Regions from separate parts of the Homo sapiens genome. Here all the other regions are linked to region 1. The links are contacts of gene promoters, found by promoter capture Hi-C in blood cells and fetal thymus (Javierre and others, 2016). All regions are on one chromosome and are shown on one strand. The core of a region is centred on a gene start or on the middle of the fragment in contact, and the rest is flanking DNA. Distances in the headings are between cores, read along the strand shown.

What was found. The method cuts DNA at HindIII sites, captures the fragments that hold promoters and counts their contacts. A CHiCAGO score of 5 or more calls a contact.
Region 2: the fragment with the promoter of EVX1 here is called in contact with a fragment that was not itself captured in region 1 in 2 of 17 cell types (naive B cells and total B cells); the score reaches 27.9 in naive B cells.
Region 3: a contact is called between the fragment with the promoter of HOXA2 here and a fragment that was not itself captured in region 1, in 6 of 17 cell types (total B cells, naive B cells, fetal thymus and 3 more). The highest score is 13.3, in total B cells.

What each region holds. Positions count from the first base shown.
Region 1 is chr7:26,373,286-26,376,756 of GRCh38, reverse strand. SNX10 (sorting nexin 10) reads right to left here. Exons shown (of 7, transcript NM_013322.3): 7 at 2,374-3,471. The region is part of intron 1 of SNX10-AS1 (SNX10 antisense RNA 1); the gene reads left to right. Among named protein-coding and RNA genes, the nearest start is that of LINC02981, 24 kb to the left of the region's middle. RefSeq lists a silencer at 1-77. The HindIII fragment of the contact is 715 bases long and covers 1,438-2,152 here.
Region 2 is chr7:27,240,872-27,244,342 of GRCh38, reverse strand. EVX1 (even-skipped homeobox 1) reads right to left here and starts at 1,541. Exons shown (of 3, transcript NM_001989.5): 1 at 886-1,541. The coding sequence starts at 1,312. EVX1-AS (EVX1 antisense RNA) reads left to right here. Exons shown (of 4, transcript NR_120507.1): 2 at 2,333-2,428; 3 at 2,702-2,794; 4 at 2,893-2,914. RefSeq lists an enhancer at 1,046-1,923. The HindIII fragment of the contact is 5,233 bases long and covers 1-1,890 here.
Region 3 is chr7:27,100,736-27,104,206 of GRCh38, reverse strand. It overlaps HOXA2 (homeobox A2), which reads left to right and starts at 1,524. Exons shown (of 2, transcript NM_006735.4): 1 at 1,524-2,097; 2 at 2,742-3,471. The coding sequence starts at 1,707. RefSeq lists an enhancer at 850-1,689. The HindIII fragment of the contact is 6,069 bases long and covers 558-3,471 here.

The sequences.
Region 1 (3,471 bases), core at 546-3,045:
CGGGCGCGAGCGTCTGCAGAACAAAGCCTGGAGTCCAGCCCCGGCCCCGGCGCGGCCGCCCCTCAACCAACCCCCAGGCGGCAAGGCCCTCTCCACGCGCGCTCTCCAGCCTGGCGGGGCCCTGGAAGCCGGGACACGCGGAGGCCGGGAGGGTCATCGGCGTTTAAGGCAGCCTCCCACACCAAGTGCACCGCCCGGATCCCCTCTGCACGAGGGCTTTCTGCTTATTGCTCTTTTCCCCAGCAGCCAGAATCGTCACCGTAGCGCGGGAAGGGGCCTCGCGGGCCGTCTGCAGCAGGTGCGGCCGGGAGCCGCAGGCCCGCGCGGTAAATCGCTGTCTCTTTGCGGTCGTTGTTCCCATTCACCGCCCGCCGCCCCCCGCCCCACCACGGTTCTTTTTTTTCTTTCCGCCGCGCAGTTGCCATGGGTTACCAGGGCGGTTGCCATGGGTTACCGGACCGAGGCCGGCTGGCTCGCTACCTGCAGCCCAGTCGCCGCCGCCAGCGGAGCGGCCCGGGCGGGACGCGGCGGGAGCGCGCGTGTGCGGGACGCAGCGCGGGGGATGCGCGCGGGCCGCGGAGGCGCCGCAACCAACAGGCGGCCGAGGGTGCAGCCGCGGGAGCGCCACCGCCAGTGGGGTGGGGGGCAAAGCTATAAAGAAGGCCCAGAGGTAAGAAACTAGCAAAAACACAACCACAAGTTATGCCCGTGCTGTGCCTCTAGCAGCAAAGACAAGCGGTGTGGGGTTGGATGAATCTACACTTCTCGTCGGGGGAGAAAGGGTATTTTCCTCTTTAGCATAAGCCATTTACATAGTGTCTTTAGACCAGAGTTTAAATTCAGCAGGAAATTGTAGCTTAATGGTTTTTTTTCTCTTTTCCTCTATATCTTTTGAAAAGAAGTCTTTGGAATTTTGGAGAAAGAGAAAGGGTCATTAACTACCAGAGTTTGCGCAGCTAAAATAAATTAGTGTCCAATGCACTGCTCATGATCTAGAAAAGTTTGCAGTAGGAGTGAAGCGCAATTGTGTCTGCTAAAAAGGGACAATGGTGACTCGTTTGTAAGATGCATATGGCAAAGAATAGAACCAAAGTCCTTTGTATATATAGCAAATGTTAAAGAAATTGTTGCTTATTTACATCCTTCTGAAATTTTTGAACTCCACTCTATTAAAATTATTAATTTCTTATGACCTTTATTTGCAAAGAAAATTCTATGCTTTGAATGTCAAATTGCAGTAACTAATTTCAGACAGTATTTTGTATTTGAAAATGTGTTTATATATAATAAACTAAGAAAAGGTCTATATTCCAAACAAAAACACAAAATTGTACTGAAATTGTTTCCTTCATTGAAAAGATGTTGCCTTGTATTCACAGGATACCAGCTAAGTAATTTAAATATTAAGAGGAAGACTATTTAGAAACAGAATAAGCTTTGTTATTTTCGTTTAAAATGTTAAGGGGCCTCTAATGAAAAGGGGTTGTCTTTTATAGCTCAAATACTGAAAACCTTATTGGTATCACAGTAGCTCAATAATAATGAATCCTTAAGGCATCCAACAAATACAAACCAAATTCAAAACAACGTCCAGTTTACTGTTGGATATAACGGTTATTGTGGCCAGGCTAAATGAAGTTGTTTAACTTCTTAATTGTCATAAAAGAAACTTTGTTCTTTTACTTTATACTGCATATCACTTGTTTGTATTTAATTATTCAATAAAATGTGGACTAGGTTTGAAAAACTGGCAAGATACTTCATATCTTAAGGAATAGTATCTGCTTAAAAATAAATACTTGTTTGTCCCTAGTAATTTTTAAAACTTGAAATTTTAACTAGAATTAAGTAACTTTCTTCTAAGTGAGACTTTATAAGAAGCCGAAGTAACAGGTTGTTGACGTTCAGTGCTGTTGACACCTTTGGGTTATATATAAATCTAGTTCTACAACAAAACACGTAAGTTGGCTTTATAGGTGAATAGTTTACCCTTTAAGAATCAGCCAGGGAAAATGCAGTTTTGCTGTATTGTAATCATAAAGAATCCAGGATTAGAATTCTTTACATTTAAGTCACATTAAAAATAGTGTTAAATAAACATCTATTCAAGTTAGCTACATCAGTAATTATTTTCTTTTTCCTAAAGAAAGCTTTATAAAAAATATGCCAGAGAAAAATAAGAGACAAAGCAAGAAAACCACTGGGAACTGAAGTTCATCTAAATATCTCAGCTGCAAGAAATCAGTTTTAAGAAGCCAGTGTGTGGACATTGAAACAACTAAACCAAGGCTAAAAGCCTCAAATATGTACAACTATAGCTAATATTAAACCATGTTTTACCAAATTTCCTCATAAAAAATAAAAAACACTGAGTTTGGGTCTAAGGCAGAATATATTCTCTTGTATAAAATAAGTGATCCGGCAAAGTTGATTTTTTTTCACGTTTAATGTAAAAATGATCTCGTGACATTTACATACTAAGTATTAGGCATTACATAATATTAATTTTGATGGCTATGTTACATCATCTAAAAATAATATGACAATTGGTGGCATAGTATGTGTTTTTCAAAACTGCTGTAAAACAGAAATAGTGTGAACTCAAATACATATTGCTGAAGGGATGAGGATCGCTCTTAAATGCCTGGATGGCATGAACTTTACATATTAGCATGGTAAGAAATTACTAAATCTTTTCTTTTCCTGTATTAAAATAATGAGGATCTAAGACACATTAAATCAAAATATTTACAAAAATTTAATAATGTTTTAGACCAAAGAAAAAAAGGACAAATTAAAGAAATCATTCTTATTCTAAATTTAATTTTTTTAATGTTAGTTCTCAGTTTTCTTAGCTTTTTTTTCTGTTGGTTCTTTGAAACAAGCATTGTAAAGACTTTTTAATAATACAATAGCTTTTAAACTCTTAGTGAAAATGAAAAGGTTGCTTTTTGTAGTAGCCTCTGCCACTCTTCAATTAGGCTGGGTAACAAAGCAACAAGTTATCCTAGTTATCTGAAAATATCTTCCTGTTAGTTTCACAGAAATATTTTGTACCATTCAACATGGATGAAACTTGGGTAATTATCTCAAGAAAATGTTGCCTCATCTGAAATCTGAACTTCAAAATAGTTTATCTAAGATATCTTTGGGACACTAAAAAAAAAGACATTTTATGAAAATTATACCAATCTTCAAGTAGATGCTTTAAAAGGGGCTTTTTAAAAATGAATAATTATTTCTGAAATTAGCAAGTCGACATCCTTTTCTAAATTATGGGAATATTTATTGGTAAAATTAAATTTATTAATCTTTATAAAATCCTTCCTCTGATTTAAGTAATAAGTAACCACCACTGATACTGAAAGTTATCTAGTGATAAGAAATTGCACATTTAGTCAAAAAATAAATCATTAACCTGATTATACAATGATAATGAAAACAAATTATTTGTCTCCAGAAACCATTTGT
Region 2 (3,471 bases), core at 292-2,791, 870 kb before region 1:
GTTCTGTGGAGGAGTGTCTGCTGGTGGGCTCCCCTCTCCTCCCCCCCACCAACCCGCGCCCAGTTTTCTACCCCCTTCTGGGGAGGTGATTGTTGGCACAGAGGGAAACTCCCTTCCGGGCTATCCACCCCTTTCCCATTAGCCTTTGGTGGGGAGGGGTTCTCCAGTTAAACCAGCCCCCCTTTGGGCCTACCTCTGAGAAGGGTGGGGCTCCAGCCCCCTGCAGCTCCTTTTCCTTTGGGTGGAGAAGTGGGACTAGGAAGGAAAGGGGAAGGGGGGAGGACCCGATCTCTGCCTTTTCAAATGCAACCGGAGACCAAAGGCAATTAGACCATTGGGACCATTTCCGACCTGGCGCCGCGAAGCCCGGGAAGTGACAAGGTAATTTGGACCTCTGACCGACGTGCAAACTGGTCGGAGGGCTGCAGCACCCGGGCTGCCCAAGTGGGCCGCAATTTTACGGTCCTTTATGGACTCCTGGCTTCCGCGCCTCCATGCCTCTTACACCCTGCCAGCCACAAACTGCCCGGATCGGCGTTTGATCTTGCCCTCGCCTGGGGAAAGTGTCTTCCCCGAGCAATTGAAGCATTCCCCGAGCAGTTGAAACACTGGGTGCTTGGGGTGAGCTTCGAATCCCCCAAGTCCAGGACTTGCATCCGCCCCCTCAGCACCCCGCACTCAAGGCACTGCTGTCACCCTCAGTCCCGCCAATGCCAGAACACAGTAGGAGACCCCCGCCAGAACGCAGATAGCAGAGAGAGTTGCTCAGGTGGGTCCCCCCAGCCATCCTGCCCTAGGGGAAGGGAGTGTCTTCCTCCTGGCCTGCGCCGAAGTGAAGGGTGGGCGCAGTGGGAGGCCCGGGGAGCGGAGGGGCACGGTGGCTACCTTTGCTGTGCTGGTACTCGGCGTTCCCGGTGGCGCAGTCCGGGGTGCAGCTCACCTCGATTTCTTCATAGAAATCCGACTCGGTGTCCGAGCTACTGGGTTGCCCCTGTCCGGAGAGGCTGTCGACTGAGGGGGCCGGGGGTCCTGGGCCGAGCATGGCCGCCCCAGCTACCTGGGGCTCGGCGCCCGGCCCCGCCGCGCTGCCTGCGAGTCCATCTACCGGCTCCTCCTCCGGGCCTCCCCCGCCGCGCTCCCGGGTGGCCGGAGGGACGGCCCGAGGGCTCAGGCAACCACGGGGCACCATTTTCTCGGGCGGCTCCGGCAGCGGGCTGCCCACGGCTTCGGACAAATTTGAGACTCTCTTGCCAACCAGAGTGCCAAGCTGACCCCCATCCAGAAACACAACCATGTCCTTTCGGCTCTCCATCCCGGGGCTCTCCGGTGGGGGAGGGGAAAGCCCCAAGTGAGTTCCTAACCCCGGCTCCCTGGGTCTCCAGCGGCCGGACGGATCTTGGTTGCAAGAGGGAGAAAGAAAGGCCGGGTGCCTGGGAGGGCGCGGAGCTGCTGGAGCGCGGTCTGGACCGCGACCGCGGCGGTGGCGGTGGGAGCTAGGGTCACCTTGTGAAGCGAGCGCTCCTCTGTGCCGCACCGCCTCTGGGAGGAAGCCCCATTGCCCTCTTCTTTCTAAGCTGTCATCCTCCTGCTGCAATCGTCATTACAGTACCGCTGGTGACGCCACTCGGCGAGCGCAAGTGGATAAATAGAAACGTCTGCCACAGCGAAGATGAAAGGAAACCCGCAGCTAATGGCTCGGCAGTGATGCGCCAGGTGTGGGCCTCGCTCGATTGGGGAGGAGAGTGTGAAAACAGACAGAGAGACACACACACTGAGAGAGGGAGACACCCAGGCAGAGGGGATGCAAATGGAATTCCGCAGAAAGAAAAGAGAGCTTAACGCGCGCGGCGAGTTCCGCAGGGGCAGCGGGACTCGGTAATTAAATAAGCTTTTGATTTTTTCTTTTATTGTTGTTTTGACTTTTGTTTTCTTAACTTGGTGCCTTGATCTAACACCGATGAAAGAATCCATAACTGCATTTTAGAAGTGTGAAGCCCGGCTTACAAGCCTCAATTCTGTCGGCATTATTACAACTGTCTGCCCCTGGCAGCTAACCTCAAACTGGCTGAAAAGTCTTTTTACAAGCTACGGAAAAATGTATTCCCCCGCCCCAAGTTGACTGGAGAGCTTGAGGCTGGGCCATCTTTTCCTCTTTTCTCCTCCCTCTCCCTACCCACCTCTGTCTCCTTACTCCTGCGAACCAAACTTTGCTATTTTTCTTCCCTAAGGGGCAAGAAATAAATACCTTATTATTATTTTTTAATTTAAAGACCCGCCTTGGCTTCTGTAAGAGTGTGTGCTGATTTCTTTTAAATACCTCCTTCCCATCTAGATGGCCTTAAGTTTTCCACAGCCTGGCTTCATCTTGAGATGGCTATTCGTACAAGAAGTCGCTTTCCCGTTTGCCTGGACCTCGCCTGCACTCCAGGTATGTTGGGTGGGGAGAGTTTCTAAGAGTTGTCTTTTTTTTTCCCTTGCCCATATTTTAAAGTATTCGTTCAGAATCAGCGAAGTCTCCTGGAAAGAGGTTTTTCGAATGAAGAGGCGCCAGGAATGCGGCCCCTGCTGTGGCAGTACTGGAGGCCCCTACTTGGGAGAAGGCAGTAGCTTTCACCGCGCTATTTTGGGCAGGGGTTCAGCCTCCCCGAGTACAAAAAGGTTGGGGTTCATAGAGGTTTGACTCATAAGGTCCTCTCCCAAGTCCCTGCCTAGGGGCAGTGGTACCTGTCTCCAAAAGTGGATGGCGTTTGAGGTAGAAGAGAGTGAAGTCGCTGAAAATGCCCTAAAACAGCAAGTAAGTAGGGACTCTGATGAAGGGCTGGAGGTGGGGGCAGGGGTTGTGGAACTTAATATCTGGAAGCTGCCATAGGCCTCTCTTGGCTCCTCTCCCAGGGAAGAAGCTGGTATAAAACTCCTTCAAACTGACCCTTTTTGAGCTCCAAGCAAGTGTGCTGGGGCCAGGTGGGTGGGCTGAGTCTATCCCCACATTGCTGAGAGCAGGAGGTGGGCACCTTCTATGCTCAACCCCCCTTTCTCCGCCTCCTCCCGAAGAGCTTCTAGCCCTAGGCAGCCAGCTGCAAAGGGCAGCCCAGCACCTCCCTCCTTTCTGTGTCCCTAGCAAAGCCCCAGCTTTTACAGGTAAGTCCTCTTCCGTGACCTTTTTATCTGTTATCTCCTACTTTTCTCTCCTCCTTTTTCTCTTTCTGTATTCTTCTCCTTCTTTGCTTCTCTCCTCCATCTTCCTATCCATAGGGTTAAGGAAGGTAGAGGAAGTAAGGGGTCCAAAGAAAGACAAAGTTTCCTCTTCACTCCGGCTTTCCACTTCTCTTTCAGTCTAAGACGATGTTCATTAATCTTGCCTGGGGGCGGAGGCAGCGGGATCCGGAAGGTAGTGTCCACATAGATATTTCTACTCCTTGGGACTCCTGAAGCCACTATATGCTGAGCACTGCTAGCCCCAAAATCCAGGGA
Region 3 (3,471 bases), core at 275-2,774, 730 kb before region 1:
CTAGCACTGTCCAAGATGCGCTCAGTCTCAAGTCTCCGAATTGGAAAAAAGATAATGAAGGAGAACGAAAACCTTTATAATTCCTCCTTGGGTCGCCTCCTCTCCCCCGCAGTGCTGTTTCCCACAACAGAACCCGGAAGCAAACATCCCCGGTGCCCAAGGATCAGGAAGGTGTGGGAGGCAGTTCAGGCTGCCAGGGAGCACTCGCTGTATCTAAACCAACCAGCCCCCAACCAGAGCGACAAGGACAAGAAGAAGGGTAGAAAAAAAAGAGAGAGGGAGGGAAAGAGAGGAGCAAGCATCTTCTCTTTCCCTGCTGGTAACTTCCAACAGACTTCCTGGAAATCGGAAATACTCACCGCACCCGAGCCCTACGGGTATGAAACCCAGAATGCCAGGAGCCGCACGCGCCTGCTCGGGGCGGCATTTCTTTGGCTGGCCGCCGCCCTGGCTACGGGGATTTGGACACATGGACCTGGGGTTGTTGTCTCGCTTGGCACATGCATCTTTCTCCAGCCACTCCTGAGAAGTTGATGGCGCAGGAAGGTCGGGAAGCTTCGAGAGCCGCCTCCCGTTTTCCGCTTCCCGCCGGAGCCAGATGCAAAGCTGCCGTGGAATAGCCTGCTAACAATGGGCCCGGGGCGCAGACTCTGGGCTGGACACTGGGAGGGGGGCGAGAGGCTGAGGGGAGAAGGGGAGGCGGACAGAAGAGAGAGGGAGGGAGAAAGGGGGAGAAGAGGAAAAAGAGGGAAAGGGACAGACAGGAAGGAAAACAGACCGAGAGAGATCAGTTTTGAGATCCAGGAACTGCTTTTAGGAAAAGTGAAGGAGGAAAAGGGAAAGAAAAGGAAGACCCCTTCCCAACCAAAATCTTTCCTTTCTTCTCTCTTTTCTGTCTTCTCTTTCTCCATCTCTCAAACTCTCTCTTCTTCCCTCTCTCTTTATTCTCCCTCTCTCATCTCCTCTCTTCCTCTGCTCCTTTCTCCTGCTTTAACAGAACTTATGTGGCTGGGACGCAGGGCCCTCGGGTGTCAAAACTTTGAAGATTAATGGATTACTTTGTTAATGACTGCAGGCGTCAGACTGAGGTGCTTAAATGATTTGTGAGGTGCGAGGCGTCTTCCCGACAGTCCCAAACAATGCGCGGAGTGTGCGGGGGAGGCAGAGGGCAGCCACCGGCGGGACCGACAGCAGGGCTTACACTCGCGCACATTCACACACACACACACACACTCCCAGGCACACACACTAGATAGATCCTTGCAGATCAGGAGGCACGCAGGCACCCTCGCCCCCACGTACTCCGGGACATCCCCACCCACACCAACATATATGTATTTTTGCTCTGAAAAAAGTGTAAATAAAGCCTCGCTGGCCCCCAATGAGGCGTTCCTTCCCGACTTTTTTGGATCAATCAAACAGACAGTGGCTTCTTTTGATTAAAGCCCAAATTGTCATTGGGCAGAAGCAATCATGTGACAGCCAATTCGGTCCAATTTCAACCTTGTCTCCATGAATTCAATAGTTTAATAGTAGCGCGGTCCCCATACGGCTGTAATCAGTGAATTAGAAAAAAAACACCCTAGCAGCGATATTCTATGATAGATTTTTTTTCCTCTGCGCTCGCCTTTTTCCTAGGCCTTGCCCCCCCAAAGCCCCTCCAAAAGAGGGAACTTTTTCTCTGAGGGGGCTCCAAGGAGAAGGCCATGAATTACGAATTTGAGCGAGAGATTGGTTTTATCAATAGCCAGCCGTCGCTCGCTGAGTGCCTGACATCTTTTCCCCCTGTCGCTGATACATTTCAAAGTTCATCAATCAAGACCTCGACGCTTTCACACTCGACACTGATTCCTCCTCCTTTTGAGCAGACCATTCCCAGCCTGAACCCCGGCAGTCACCCTCGCCACGGCGCTGGCGGCCGCCCCAAGCCGAGCCCCGCGGGCAGCCGCGGCAGCCCGGTGCCCGCCGGCGCCCTGCAGCCGCCCGAGTACCCCTGGATGAAGGAGAAGAAGGCGGCCAAGAAAACCGCACTTCTGCCGGCCGCCGCCGCCGCCGCCACCGCCGCAGCCACCGGCCCTGCTTGCCTCAGCCACAAAGGTCAGTCCAAAGACTTGGCCCCAGGTCTCTGGGACCCTCTTCCTTCTCCGGGCTGCCCCGAGAGTGGCTGTGGGGGGAGGGGAGAGTGGGCTGGGAGAGAAGGAGGAGAGGGAGAGATGCTTGGTTGCCTTGTCCCTGCCCCTGTGGGTTCAGGAGTGGGTTTGATGGAGAGGAAAGGGGATCCTGCGCTCTACAATGAGACATATATATTTTTAGGAAGTGGGGGGAAACTTTCCCGAACTTGTGTAATGTGGGATGATTTATTTGAGTTGGAACTGACCTCCTCCTGTCTAGTTGTCCTAGAGTTTGGCTTTTTGACAGTAATGAAGAGTGATAGATCGCTCTTGCTCAGCTAAGCAGCTGACGCATTAATTATAAATTGTGTTGTGGCTAATATAAAGTTTGCTCCCGGATGAAGAGGTTGGGGGGAGCCACAGGCATGAATTCGATAGAGATGGAGGAGACGGGGTCTGCCCAGGCTGGGCTCCCAGGAAAGGCAGCACAATAGCTCTACTGCATCCAGGGGCGGCCATTTTGTTGCAGTTGATCTTTTCTGCTATATTTATTCTCCAGTGGAATAACCCCGCTCGGACCCCTCCACCTCCAACTGTGCGTGTGTCTCTTGTTGGTTTCCCTTTCCGCAGAATCCCTGGAAATCGCCGATGGCAGCGGCGGGGGATCGCGGCGCCTGAGAACTGCTTACACCAACACACAGCTTCTAGAGCTGGAAAAAGAATTTCATTTCAACAAGTACCTTTGCAGACCCCGAAGGGTGGAGATTGCAGCGCTGCTGGATTTGACTGAGAGACAAGTGAAAGTGTGGTTTCAGAACCGGAGGATGAAGCACAAGAGGCAGACCCAGTGCAAGGAAAACCAAAACAGCGAAGGGAAATGTAAAAGCCTTGAGGACTCCGAGAAAGTAGAGGAGGACGAGGAAGAGAAGACGCTCTTTGAGCAAGCCCTTAGCGTCTCTGGGGCCCTTCTGGAGAGGGAAGGCTACACTTTTCAGCAAAATGCCCTCTCTCAGCAGCAGGCTCCCAATGGACACAATGGCGACTCCCAAAGTTTCCCAGTCTCGCCTTTAACCAGCAATGAGAAAAATCTGAAACATTTTCAGCACCAGTCACCCACTGTTCCCAACTGCTTGTCAACAATGGGCCAGAACTGTGGAGCTGGCCTAAACAATGACAGTCCTGAGGCCCTTGAGGTCCCCTCTTTGCAGGACTTTAGCGTTTTCTCCACAGATTCCTGCCTGCAGCTTTCAGATGCAGTTTCACCCAGTTTGCCAGGTTCCCTCGACAGTCCCGTAGATATTTCAGCTGACAGCTTAGACTTTTTTACAGACACACTCACCACAATCGACTTGCAGCATCT